Regions from separate parts of the Homo sapiens genome. Here region 1 is linked to region 2. Evidence: promoter capture Hi-C in 16 types of primary human blood cells and fetal thymus (Javierre and others, 2016). All regions are on one chromosome and are shown on one strand. Each heading gives the region's core, a stretch centred on a gene start or on the middle of the fragment in contact. The rest is flanking DNA. Distances are from core to core; before and after follow the strand shown. Region 1 overlaps UBE2R2 (ubiquitin conjugating enzyme E2 R2). Region 2 holds the start of DCAF12 (DDB1 and CUL4 associated factor 12).

The links. Contacts are between HindIII fragments. The CHiCAGO score rates a contact against its expected background, and 5 or more counts as called.
Region 1: a contact is called between a fragment that was not itself captured here and the fragment with the promoter of DCAF12 in region 2, in 1 of 17 cell types (erythroblasts). The highest score is 6.2, in erythroblasts.

What each region holds. Positions count from the first base shown.
Region 1 is chr9:33,820,645-33,828,228 of GRCh38, reverse strand. All of the region lies in intron 1 of UBE2R2 (ubiquitin conjugating enzyme E2 R2), which reads right to left. Among named protein-coding and RNA genes, the nearest start is that of UBE2R2-AS1, 5.6 kb to the right of the region's middle. The HindIII fragment of the contact is 4,626 bases long and covers 2,988-7,584 here.
Region 2 is chr9:34,123,479-34,130,338 of GRCh38, reverse strand. DCAF12 (DDB1 and CUL4 associated factor 12) reads left to right here and starts at 3,641. Exons shown (of 9, transcript NM_015397.4): 1 at 3,641-3,985; 2 at 5,062-5,316. The coding sequence starts at 3,908. RefSeq lists a silencer at 3,907-3,956 and an enhancer at 3,391-4,092. The HindIII fragment of the contact is 23,268 bases long and covers 1-5,938 here.

The DNA of each region.
Region 1 (7,584 bases), core at 4,051-6,550, 300 kb after region 2:
CCAGGTTCAAGCGATTCTTCTGCCTCAGCCTCCCGAGTAGCTGGGATTATAGGCGCGTGCTACCACAACCAGCTAATTTTGTATTTTCAGTAGAGATAGGGTTTCACCATGTTGGTCAGGCTGGTCTTGAACTCCTGACCTCAGGTGAGCCGCCAGCCTCAGCCTCCCAAAGTCCTGGGACTACAGTGAGCCTCTGTGCCCAGCCTAATTTAATTTTTAATTTTATTAATTTATTTTATTTGTATTTATTTTTTTTTTGAGAGGGAGTCTTGCTATGTCGCCCAGGCTGGATTGCAGTGGCATAATCTGGGCTCACTGCAACCTCCGCCTCCCGGGTTCAAGCAATTCACCCGCCTCAGCCTCTTGAGTAGCTGAGATTACAGGCATGTGCCACCATGCCCAGCTAATTTTTGTATTTTTAGTAGAGACGGGGTTTCACCATGTTGGTCAGGCTGGTCTTGAACTCCTGATCTCACGTAATCTGCCCACCTCAGCCTCCCAAAGTGCTGGGATTACAGGCATGGGTCACCACGCCGAGCCTGATTTAATTTTTAATTTAATTTTATTAATTAATTAATTTTTTTTTTTAGATGGAATTTCACTCTTGTTGCCCAGGCTGGAGTGCAATGGCGCAATCTCAGCTTACTGCAAATTCCACCTCCCGCATTCAAACAATTCTCCTGCCTGAGCCTCCCAAGTAGCTGGGATTTCAGGCGTGCGCCACCACACCAGGCTAATTTTTGTATTTTTAGTTGAGACAGCGTTTCGCCATGTTGACCAGGCTGGTGCCGAACTCCTAATCTCAAGTGATTCGCCCGCTTTGGCATCCCAAAGTGCTGGGATTACAGGCGTGAGCCACGGTGCCCAGCCTATTTATTTTTAATTTAACTTATTTATTTTTGAGACTGAGTCTTGCTCTGTTACCCAGCTAGAGTACAATGGCATGCTCATGGCTCACTGAAGCCTCGACCTCCCAGGCTCAAGTGATCCTCCCACCTCAACTCAACCTTCTAAGTAGCTGGGACCAAAGACACAAACTGCCATGCTTGACTAATTTTTTTTTATTCGAACAGCGTCAAAAAATAATAATAATAATAAGACAATAACCAAAACCTTTTTATTTTTTTTTGAGGCAGAGTCTCACTGTCGCCCAGGCTGGAGCGCAGTGGCGCGATCTCGGCTCACTGCAGCCTCCGCTTCCTGGGTTCAAGCGATTGGCCTGGGTTCAAGAGATTCTCCTGCTTCAGCCTCTCGGATAGCTGGGACTACAGGTTCACGACATCATGCCTGGCTAATTTTTGGATTTTCAGTAGATGTGGGGTTTCACCACGCTGTCCAGGCTGGTCTCGAACTTCCGAGCTCAGGTGATCTGCCCACCTCTGCCTCCCAAAGTGCTGGGTAAAAATTATAATCGTGAGCCACTGCACCCACCCAATAACCAAAACATTTTTATATGTATTTGTTACTAAATCAAATAAAGGTGTTTAAAGTGGACTATTCACTTTTCTTTTTTTTTGGAGGGGGCGGCAGGGGACAGAGTCTCACTCTGTTGCCCAGACTGGAGTGCAATGGCGTGATCTCAGCTCACTGCAACCTCTCCGCCTCTGGATTCAAGCCATTCTCCTGCCTCAGCCTCCCGGGTAGCTGGAACTACAGGCACGTGCCACCATGCCCTGCTAATTTTTTGTAGTTTTAGTAGAGACGGGGTTTGACCGTGTTAGCCAGAATGGTCTCAATCTCCTGGCCTCGTGATCCGCCTGCCTCGGCCTCCCAAAGTGCTGGGGTTACAGGCGTGAGCCACCACTCCTAGCCACTTTGCATCTTAAATACATATTCCAACACCTGAATTTTCCAATTATCATGTGGAAGATCATTTAAGTAACATCAAACCTTGGTGATGTGAACTAAATTTACCTCTTCAACTTAGTATCTATCATTCCATTCACTTCAGAGTCAACTAATTTTGAGGTACATAAGCATAATCTCTGAATAACAATTTCTTGCTGAATAAAGTTGATATTAACACAATCAAAGAGGTTAAATTTTACTCAGGAATCTCTGTAGGATTTTTTTTTTTTTTTTTGAGACAGAGTCCCATTCTGTTGCTCAGGCTGGAGTGCAGTGGCACAAGATTTTGGCTCACCGCAAACCTGCACCTCCTGGGTTCAAGCGATTCTCCTGCCTCAGCCTCCCAAGTAGCTGGGACTACAGGCGCATGCCACCACACCCGGCTACTTTTTGTATTTTTAGTAGAGATGGGGTTTCACCATATTGGCTATGCTGGTCTTGAACTCCTGACCTCAAGTGATCTGCCCACCTCCGCCTCCCAAAAGTGCTGGGATTACAGGTGTGAGCAGGCATGAGCCACTGCATCCAACCAACTCAGATATCTCTGTAGTCGTATGTGAAGCAGTTCAAAAGAAGTTCAGAAACATAAAAGAATTAAACCTTTTCAATATAATCTTTAAGCAAGATGGAAATCTGTAGTCCTAAACTCTGAATTTATACCTTTTCCTCACTGTTATTTTTCCATAACTAGATTATCAGAGGTAGCCTAATTTGCTGGATGGTCTCCTTTCTCTCACGTGTCTCCAACTGACCATTAAGTTGGAAAGATGGAACAGAACATTTTATCATTATGTTGAAAAATGGTCTAACTAGCCTTAAAGCTTTAAAAGCTTTGCTTTTGGACAGGTGTGGTGGCTCATGCCTGTAATCCCAGCACTTTGGGAGGCCGAGGTGGGTGGATTACCTGAGGTCAGGAGTTTGAGACCACCCTGACCAACATGGTGAAACCCCATCTCTACTAAAAATACAAAAATTAGTCTGGCATGGTGGCACACGCCTGTAGCCCCAGCTACTCGGGAAGCTGAGGAGGAGAATTGCTTGGACCCAGGAGATGGAGGCTGCAGTGAGCCAAGATTGTACCACTGCACTCCAGCTTGGGTAACAGAGACTCTGTCTCAAAAAAAAAAAAAAAAAAAGCTTTGCTTTTATGAAGATCATTCTTTTTGTTTTTGTTGTTTGCCTCCCAAAGTGCTGGGATTACAGGCGACCGCCTGGCCGATCATTCTTAAAAGCTCTAAGGTTATCATTGTCCTAATACTTTCACTTACTATCTTTAAGGAAGTGACTTTTCCTACAATTTGCTTTTCCTTTAATGAGTCCTCAATAAAAATTTTTCCTGACACAAAAGGTGAAAAAAGGAGAATCAACGCAGAGTATTAATTAGGACCTAAATCCTTCAATCCAGGAAGAAATAATCCTTATTTTAGCAAATCTATGACATTGAAACTGGTATTTAAAAAAAAATTTACCAAAAGATTTCAATGAAATGGTCTCTCACAACTAGGTTATAAGTACCACTTGGCTGATGGCAATTACAAGACTTCATGGATTCCAAGAATTTTTTTTTTTTTTTTTTTTGAGACAGAGCTTCACTCTGTTGCCCAGGCTGGAGTACACTGGCATGATCTAGGCTCACTGCAGCCTCCACCTCTTGGGTTCAAGCAATTCTCCTGCCTCAGCCTCCCAAGTAGCTGGGACTGCAGGTGCGGACCATCACACCCGCTAATTTTTTTTTTTTTTTTGAGACAGAGCCTCGCTCTCTCGCCCAGGCTAGAGAGCAGTGCCTCGATATCAGTTCACTGCAAGCTCCGCCTCCCGGGTTCACGCCATTCTCCTGCCTCAGCCTCCCAAGTAGCTGGGACTACATGTGCCTACCACCATGCCTGGCTAATTTTTTTGTATTTTTTTAGTAGAGATGGGGTTTCACCACGTTAGCCAGGATGATCTCCATCTCCTGACCTCGTGATCCGCCCGCCTCGGCCTCCCAAAGTGCTAGGATTACAGGCATGAGCTACCGCGCCCGGCCCACACCAGCTAATTTGTGTATTTTTAGTGGAGACCGGGTTTCACCATGTTGGCCAGGCTGGTCTTGAACTCCTGACATCAGGTGATCCACCCGCCTCGGCCTCCCAAAGTCCTGGGATTACAGGAATGAGCCACCACACCTGGCCATCTAAGAAATTTCTTAATCAAAAAGAAGTTAAAAGGTAGAAAAATATGCATCTTGTAATCAACTAAACAGGATAAAAGCATATTCTATGAAAAACTAAGGCATCATATTTGGTTTGAAAAATGTTCTGAGAAACAACAAAAAGTGAAACTTCATTTAGTTTCCAAAACCCTTAGACCTTAACTGTGTTTCCATTTATAACGTTACCTTAGTTCACCCAGTACTCAAGACAACTTCATCTTCCAGAAAGAGACAGCTAAATGCCCTAAGAGGTAGTTTCAAAGTTAACTGAGAGAAATGGGGGAATAAAAGAGCATTCGTTTTATAATTTTAAAGGAGCTGTTTAAAATTGTCTTTAAGTTGCCTATCCAAATACCTTACAAGAGGATTCTTAGCTCATCGGCAGTAAACCCTCTGAAAAAGATACATAAAATTAGTTTACGTGTACCCATTTTCTCTGAGAAAATTCTTCAATTTCTCAAAAGAATCCCTGTCTCAAAAAGGCAAACAATCATTTTCCTAAAAAAATTTTTTCAGCCAGGCGCGGTGGCTCATGCCTGTAATCCCAGCACTTTGGGAGGCCAAGGCGGGTAGATCATCTGAGGTCAGGAGTTTGAGACCAGCCTGGACAACATGGTGAAACCCCGTTTCCACTAAAAATACAAAAATTAACCGGGCGTGCTGGCACGCACCTGTAATCCCAGCTACTTGGGAGGCTAAGGCAGGAGAACTGCTTGAACCCGGGAGGCAGAGGTTGCAGTGAGCCAAGATCGCGCCACTGCACTTCAGCCTGCGCAACAGAGCAAGACTCCATCTAGGAAAAAAAAAAATTTTTTTTCAACTATATTTTACCAATTAAAGAGTCATAAAATAGGCTGGGTGCAATGGTTCAGACCTATAATCGCAGTGCTTTGGGAGGCTGAGGCGGGAGGATTACTTGAGCCCAGGAGTTCAAGACAAGCCTGGACAACATAGCGAGACTCTGTCTCTAAAATAATAATAATAGGCTGGGCACACTGGCTCACATCTGTAATCCCAGCACTTTGGGAGGCCAAGGTGGGCAGATCACTTGAGGCCAGGAGTTCAAGACCAGCCTGGCCAACATGGCAAAACCCCATCTCTACTAAAAATTACAAAAATTAGCCAGGCATGGTGGTGCACGCCTGTAATCCCAGCTACTTGGGAGGCTGAGGCACGAGAACTGCTTGAACACAGGAGGTAAAGGTTGCAGTGAGCCGAAATCACACCACTGCAGTCCAGCCTGAGCAACAGAGCGAGACTCAGCTAAAAAAAAAAAAAAAAAATTAATAAGAAGAAGAAAAAGAAAAAAAAGAAATAAAATATCTAAATGACATTGCCAGATCTAGGCTAAGTCTGGTTTGTTTTTTTAGGGGGAAGAGGGAAGGCAGAAAATAGATTCATTCATTGCAAAACAAATGAAGCATAGGAAATAATGCATATTCTCTTATTAAAAAAAAAATTATTTGGCTGGGTGTGGTAGCTCACATCTGTAACACCAGCACTTTGGGAGGCCAAGGTGGGAGGATTGTTTGAAGCCAGGAGTTCGAGACCAGCCTGGCCTATGAGACCCTTTCTGCATAAACAATTTTTTTTTTAAATTAAAACGAGTGTGGTATGCACCTGCAGTCCCAGCTACTCAGGAGGGTGAGGCAAGAGGATCCCTTGAGCCCAAGTGTTTCAGGCTGCAGTGAGCTATGATCACACCACTGCACTCCAGCCTGGGCAACAAAGTGAGACCCTATCTCTTAAAAAAAAAAAAAAAAGGTTTTGAAGAGTTTCTTTAATGTAAGTCAGTGTAGGCCAGGTGTGGTGGCTCAGGCCTGTAATCCCAGCACTTTGGGAGGCTGAGGTGAGCGGGATCACCTGAGGTCAGGAGTTTGAGACCAGCCTAACCAACATGGAGAAACCTCGTCTCTACCAAAAATACAGAATTAGCTGGGCATGGTGGCGCATGCCTGTAATCCCAGCTACTCAGGAGGCTGAGGCAGAAGAATCGCTTGAACCCAGGAGGCGGAGGTTGCAGTGAGCCGAGATCGCTCCACTGCACTCCAGCCTGGGCAATAAGAGCAAAACTCAGTCTCAAAAAAAAAAAATATATATATATATATGTCAGTGTTGAGTCTAATAAAGATGTTCCTAATAAGGAAAACTTTAAGTATACAACAAATACTTTCTAAATTATCAGACTGGAGTTTTCTAAAAATGGAACACATCTATATTTCATTACCTCAATCAAATTATTTAATAAAATCAAAACTATAAAAGGTTGGCCAGGAGTGGTGGCTCAGGCCTCTAATTAGGATTACATTTTGGGAGGCTGAGATGGGCAGATCACTTAAGGTCAGGGGTTCAAGACCAGCCTGGCCAACATGGTGAAACCCTGTCTCTACTAAAAATACAAAAAGAATTAGCCAGGTTTCATGGCGCACGCCGGTAATCCCAGCTACTCGGGAGGCTGAGGCAAGAGAATCGCTTGAACCCAGGAGGCAGAGGTTGCAGTGAGCTGAGATCGTGCCACTGCACTCCAGCCTGGCAAAAGAGTGAGACTCCATCTCAAAAAAAAAAAAAATTTTTTTTTGTTATGCATATCATAAAAGAGGCACTCTTTCTGGCTCTAGACTCACTGCTATAATGCTTTAGATAAATAATGCAAAAGTTCCAAGGAGGTTCAGTACTAAAGCACCCACACTAAGCTACAATCCTTAGCAGGAGTTATTTGAAAAGATAGTTCCAGCCGGGCATGGTGGCTGACGCCTGTAAAACCAGCACTTTGGGTGGCTGAGAAAGGAGGATCCTTTGAACCCAGGAGTTTGAGACCAGCCTGGACAAAATAGTGAGACCCTACCTCACTTAACAATACTGAAGAAAAAAAAATTAGCCGGGCGTAGTCATGCCTGTAGTCCCAGCTACTCAGGGGGCTGAGGTGGGAGGACTGCTTGAGCCTAGGATGTGGAAGCTGCAGTGAGCCATGATCACACCACTGTACCCCAAACTAAGTGACAGAGAAAGACCCTGAAAAAGTTCCTTTCAAAAGAAAGGGGGTGAACTTGTTAAAAGTCTTCATTAGCTACTGACTTGATCCACAATTTATTTTTCTAGTAACAATAAAATTCCGACTTGCTTAGGTAGCAAAATAAGAAACTACACAAAAAGATAGTAAGGCCAAAAAAGATTGTATAGTATTCAGAATGGACAGAAGAAACTATCTTTGCCCATCCTACATCTATATGGCCCAAAACTAAGAATCACGTGGATTGGCGATATTAAATAAGCGAAAGCAGGATGAATAAAAAAATTCTGTGAAATACAGGTCTCACAAATCTCCAATGCAGATCCTGTGGGTAAGAGACAAGAGCCAACTATTTCAGGGTGAAAAAGATCAGTTAGAAACCTATTAATATATAAAAGTTAAAGGAATTACAGTATGAAAAATGTAAAGAATGACTGGCAGTCCCACTGCCTTCACGAATGACTATGCCAAAAAGGGAAAAGAGTTTAACTTGAAAATAAATTATACTAAATGTTCAAGGACTAACATTTAATAA
Region 2 (6,860 bases), core at 2,392-4,891:
AACCAGGCGAGACCCTGTCTCTACAAAAGATAAAAAATAAGCTGGGTGTGGTGGCACATGCATGCCATGCCACTGCACTCCAGCCTGGGCAACAAAGCGAGAACTTGTCCCTCAAAAAATAAAAATAAAAAAAGGAATTACTGCTTTGTGTTTGACTTTTTTGGAGACAGGTCTGGATCTCCCAGGCTGGAGTGCAGTGGCATGATATTGGCTCTCCACCTGCAACCTCCACCTTCTGGGCTCAAGCTATCCTCCCACCTCAGCCTGCCAACTCCCAAGTAGCTGGGACTACAGGTACATGCCACCCCACCCAGCTAATTTTTGTATGTTTCTATAGAGACAGGATTTTCCCATGTTGCCCATGCTGGTCTCAAACTCCTGAGTTCAAGCAATCTACCTGCCTCAGCCTCCCAAAGTGCTAGGATTACAGGGGTGAGCCCCGTGCCCAGCAGTGTGTTTGATTTTTTTTTCTTTTCTTTTCTTTTTTTGAAACGGAAACTCATTCTGTTGCCCAGGCTGGAGTGCAGTGGCTCGATCTCGGCTTACTGAAGCCTTGGTCTCCTGGGTTCAAGCGATTCTCCTGCCTCAGCCTCCTGAGTAGCTGGGACTACTGGCGGGCACCACCATGCCCAGCTAATTTGTGTATTTTTAGTAGAGAGGGGGTTTCACCATGTTGGCCAGGCTGGTCTCAAACTCCTGACCTAAGGTGATCCACCCGCCTTGGCATCCCAAAGTGATGGGATTACAGGTGTAAGCCACCACGCCTGGCCTGATATCTTTTATGCAATATTATAAAATTCATTCACACAGTTTTGTCAAGGTGAAATAAAATATATAGATGAATCTCTAAAATTAAAATGTTTTGTGAAGCAGGAATTGTAATTCAGGGCACACGCAGACTGGGTGGTCTTTGCCATGTCTGCAGAACAAAGAGAAGGTTGGAAGTTTTGTAAAAAGGAAGTGTTATGTATTGCTCTTCAAGAAAGTTCACTGGCACTAGTAAGGTTTTGGAGAGCTGGCAAGTTTTGATTGGTAAGTGAAGGCAATAAGTAAAACTATTTCTGAGAGTCACAGTAGGTTGTTTTAACAGCTATTAGATAAAACTGCTTTCAGATTATAGCACGCAGTTTCAGCAGTGAGGCTCACTAAGAATGCCATTCTTGGAGTAGTTACATGCCCTGAGTACTTTTTCCCCCAGCCACTCTACTACTTTATTATTGTTATCATTATTATTTTATTATTTTATTTTTTACACAGGGTCTTGCTCTGTCACCCTGGCTGGAGTCCAGTGGCATGATCTCAGCTCACTGCAACCCAGCTACTCAGGAGGCTGGTCTCGAACTCCTGACCTCAGGTGATTGGCCCAACTCGGCCTCCCAGTGTGCTGGGATTACAGGCGTGAGCCACCGCACCTGGCCTGCAGTCTTTTAAAGGCAATTGTCAATTAAATTTCCAAAATGGACTTTCATTCTGTTATTTGAATAGAAATGGTGAGCTCTTGGCCAGCCGTGGTGGCTCATGCCTGTAATCCTAGCACTTTGGGAGGCCGAAGTGGGCGGATCACCTGAGGTCAGGATTTTGAGACCAGCCTGGCCAACATGGCGAAACCCCATCTCTACTGAAAATACAAAAATTAGTGGGCAACCATCCTGGCTAACATGGTGAAACCCCGTCTCTACTAAAAATACAAAAATTAGTGGGCAACCATCCTGGCTAACATGGTGAAACCCCGTCTCTACTAAAAATACAAAAAATTAGCCAGGCGTGGTGGCGGGCGCCTGTAGTCTCAGCTATTCGGGAAGCTGAGCCAGGAGAATGGCGTGAACCCAGGAGGCGGAGCCTGCAGTGAGCCGAGATCGCACCACTGCACTCCATCCTGGGCGACAGAGCGAGACTCCGTCTCAAAAAAGAAAAAAAAAAATTAGCTGGGCAACGTGGCGAGCACCTGTAATCTGAGCTACTCAGGAGGCTGAGGTAGGAGAATCACTTGAACCCAGGAGGCAGAGGTTGCAGTGAGCCGAGATCGTGCCACTGCACTCCAGCCTAGGCTACAGAGTGAGACTCCATCTCAAAAAAAAAAAAAGAAAAGAAATCGCGAGCTCTGCTATAAGGTACATTTGGGGATGGTTCCTAGGTTGTGAAGATGAAGTAAAGGAACTTTGAGAAAGAGACTGCAGCAGTGCCCAGTGTGCCCCTCTTGGCACTGACAGCCCAATCTGAGCCTAGAGATTCTCAAAGGATTCCAGACTCTTGCCCAGGGGCTCTTGGGTCATCCAGAGCATTGCGGGGCAAGACAGAATTAGAACAGACTCAAAAAAGAAAGCTGACCCACTCCTGACCCACTCACTATGTGCATATCTCTAAAGGGACAGGCCTGACCAAATAAGATGGAGCTGCCTTTCGCAAGACATTAGGGGTTAGTGGTAGTGCCGACTTGGGATGGCAGGAGACCCTGCTTCAATCTGGTCTTTGATTCGGCTTGGAAAACAAATCCAAATCTCCTTGTTGACAGAACTTGAGATGGTCCAACAGAGCTCCTTGGAGGTATGAGGCCTGAGGCCTGAAGCCTGAAGTGACCAGCAGGTAACTGGGCACCACAGCCTGAGGCCAATCAGCCCCAAGCAAGAGCATCCTGCTTCCTCAGAGGGTTTGTTTGCTTGAGGAAAGCGAAGGCTGGCAGTCATATTCCTTCAGGATCTTCCAAAAATGTTGGCAAGGGTGATCCTGATGAAGCCCCCTTGTTTGGAGGCCAATGCCAGCTCTAACTGGACTGGCAAGCCAAAAATGACCACTCTCTTTCCTGTAGTTCAGAATTCCCGACCTGCCCTAATGGAGACGCAACCTGAATCCAAGAGTGAGGCAGGCAGCTACAGATAAGTTTACAGCGTGATGACTACTTCATAAAGCACAAAAGACCATGTGGTTTAGATGGCAGGTCATGGAAATCTAAAGGGAATGGTGAAGTTGCACCGTAAGGGGAAGGTGACTGAGGAGCTGAAACTGACTGAGGGGCTGAAGCATTTCGGACAGGAGAAAGGATCAGGAGGAGACAGAGCGGAGAATGGAGCCTCAGGGCTACCCAGCGGTGGGAAGAGGGTAGCCAGAGACTCGTAGGGCGGCCTGGGTTGGTTGTGCTGGGCAGGTTCTCAGTGGTGGGAAAGTCTGGCCACACTGCCCTGACTTCCTGACTGGACTTCACCTCGAGGGTGGGAGCGGTTCCTGCCCCCCACCCCCCCACCCCCCTGTCCAGCCCTTGGAGCCAGGGCACGGTTTGTGACAGATTCAGGGAAACGTTTGGTGCCAGATGGGAGGTAACCGGGTTAAGGCCTGCACTAGGGAGGATTCCTTCCCCCAGCAGCACTGGTGGTCCTCACTTCCGGGTGCCTGCGGATAGGCGGGCTGGGGTCGGAGGTCGGCGGCCAGAAGCCAGATTCCCTTGGCCCCAGCTCGTCCACTTCCATCCAGCAGTAGCCAAACAACCGTTGAAAATGGCCTGGCGGCGGCCGGGAAACACCAGAGAACTATCTTCCAACCCCTAGATCCCGCCCATCTCGTTCCGGCGGTGTTTCCGTGGCGACGCTATCCGAAGTGCGGCTGCGCAAGGGTGACGGCGCGCGAGCAAGGGGGAGGGGGTGTTTTGGTTCTAGCCGCTCGCCGTCCTTGCAGGCTCTGCCGTCGGAAAGCCGCTCATTCTCGCTTCCCCTTCCCTTTCCCGGCTCAAGTCCTTCCTCTCTCTTTCCTTTCTTTCCGCCTATCTTTTTTCTGCTGCCGCTCCGGGTCCGGGCCATTTTCCGGGCCGGGCGCACTAAGGTGCGCGGCCCCGGGGCCCAGTATATGACCCGCCGTCCTGCTATCCTTCGCTTCCCCCGCCCCATGTGGCTGCGGGGCCGCGGCGGCGCTGCCCACTATGGCCCGGAAAGTAGTTAGCAGGAAGCGGAAAGCGCCCGCCTCGCCGGGAGCTGGGAGCGACGCTCAGGGCCCGCAGGTGAGGGTTGAGAGGCCGGCACCTGGGTGGTGAGGCTGAGGAACCAAGATGGGCTTAGGGTCCGCAGATCCTGCGACGGGAATCGGGGTCCAGGGTCTGCAGTCAGAGGCAAAACAGGAATGGGTTCAGGGCCTATAGGGTCAGGACTGGACCCTCGTTAACTGGAGGGCAGATAGGCCAGGGCGGTGAGGAGCCAAAGGGGAACTCAGGAATGGGACATAATCCGCGGGAGGCCTGCATTCGTGGATAGGGCTTGAAAAGAAACCAGAATCTTGGCTTTGGAGGAAGGGGAAACCGAAGTTAAGGGAATCGGAAACAAACTCTGGTAGAGTGAACTCTACCTTCCATGGGCCCTAGGAAGCTGGGATGATTGCGTCCCTCCTGGAAGAAGGAAGTAGTCTCCCTATATGTATACCCAACCCTGAGCTGGGCCTTTCGGCGTTTGGACCCCAAAAGAAACAACAGTTCCCAGGTATCATCTCTATGCCGCCCCCTTTGGAGGGGAAGGCCTTCTTGGACATAGATATGGCCTCTGATTTCCCGGGGGCCTACTACCCCGTTGGCGGTTGATTTTTCGAATTCTGCAACTGCCTGGAGCGCGGGCATGATGACAGAGGAACGGTCATTGATGATGCATCCCTGGAAGACCTGGGAGCCAGGTCTGGCTCCTTGGACTGTATCTTCCGTGCTCCAGTGGGAGTACAGACTGAGAGGGAGAAGGGGGCTGGGTAGAGATGCAGCCCATGTCGGTATGGGAATCACTCTACCTCTCATTTCCTTCAATCTTTCACTCCTAAAATGTCTAGTAAACCTTTTAGTCTGTTCTATTCTGCATTCATTCCCTTGACTTTCAGCCCTTGTAATTCACATTGGTAAGTTTGACTGTGAGCAACATCTTTTTAATGTTGGAAGAGTTAAACGACTTTCTGGATTGAGATTCTTGTTCTCTTGTGTTTGTATTTGTGTTGTTTGTAAATTCTGCAGTATGAGTTATGAGTTGGTGATTTCTGTAATACAGTAGGATCTGTTCTGAAGAAGAGTAGCCAAAGCCCTGATTTCTAATGTTGTTTCCACAGTTTGGCTGGGATCACTCGCTTCACAAAAGGAAAAGACTTCCTCCTGTGAAGAGATCCTTAGTATACTACTTGAAGAACCGGGAAGTCAGGCTACAGAATGAAACCAGCTACTCTCGAGTGTTGCATGGTTATGCAGCACAGCAACTTCCCAGTCTCCTGAAGGAGAGAGAGTTTCACCTTGGGACCCTTAATAAAGTGTTTGCATCTCAGTGGTTGAATCATAGGCAAGTGGTGTGTGGCACAAAATGCAACACGGTAAGTGCCTGGGGGGATGTGACCTCTCTCCTAGGTCGTGGATATATTGCTCCACTTGCTCTAGAACCTCTGCTAGTTTTCCCGTCTGTTTCTTTTAGGAGGGACTTGCCTTACTCTCCTTTCCATTCTTTCCCGTTGGTGACTTCTTCCTCTTTTCGTGTTCCTTTTTTCACTCATACATTTCTTTTCTGATAAGTCCTCAAAGGAGTGTATTTCTTCAGGCCCTCTCTGGATGTGCTGCTTCTAGAGGGTTGTTTGTTTGTTTGTTTGTTTTTGCCTCATATTTTTATGCTGGTTTTTAAGTCATAGGCCTCAAAGGAAAGATTTAAGAAATAATGATGCTTAGAGCATCATTCAGGATACATAATAGTGAAAACAGCCTAAGAACGTATGTCGAAGTATTTAAAATAGCACACTTGGCTGTTTTTTAGTGAACAGAATCTAAAAATGTATAAACTGAAATATGAGAAATACATGAACTGTTTCCTATAAGGAAGGCAGGGAATGTGTGTCTGGTAGTATATTTCAGGGTATAAGCATTAGCTCTTTGGAAAGTAGCCTTTTTAAGAGTGAATAGAAAGACAGTTATAAATGAATGAAGTGAAAAATTTCTCAGTAAGCTTTGTAACCAACCCAATTATAGGCCAGGATAAAATAAGTCAAAGAGCAGAAACGTTTGGAATAGAGTCCACGAATAGCATGATGTCACAAGACTGGCAAATGAAAAGAGGCAGGGCCTAGGGCCTAGGGGTGGGAAATGATTACGCCCAGCCCTCCCTCGGTTTTCACCTCCCCTGTGTGAATGGACAAGTAATGTCATAATGTGTGAGTAAATTGACCCTGGAATGAAACACATTTTGGATCATTAAAAGAGAGAAGATTGCTCTAGATCAAGAAAGTCTTAAGTACTAGGAGAAGTGTCTGTTTATAAAGGACATAGGCAAAAATTTAAACAGTTTTAAGGAAGGAAATAATACCATGGTGGTTGGTCTGTTTATAAAGGACATAGGCAAAAATTTAAACAGTTTTGAGGAAGGAAATAATACCATGGTGGTTGGGGCCAACCTTTCGTTTCCTCTTCTGTTGAGGAGTCGCTTGTCTTACCCAGAAGCCTTTCAAAACTAAGTGGTGGCAACGGGCCTCCACAGAACTTCCTTTTCTTGGTCTCTCCAGCTGCCCACTCGTGGTTAAGAACTGTCATCCTTGTCACTTGGAGTAGAAAAAGAGTCTCCTGCTTGGAAGAGTTCATTCCACTCCCCGCACGTGCATCATAGTGTTTAGCCTAGCAAATATTACTGAATTGTAAACTGAATTAATCATCATAGCCTCTTGCTTGTTGAATTTATTGACACTATTTTGAAGGCGAGCATAATAAGTAATAATTTAACCTACTCTTAATTCCTACCTCTTTCTGTCTTCCTAATCCTCATAACCTAGTGTTTGGGGCAAGGGGAGCTGTTTTCATTTTATAGTTAGTATTTGTTTGTTTTTGCTTAGCTTCCAGAACCAAAGCAGGGAACTAGGAATAGTGCTCTTCTCTGAAC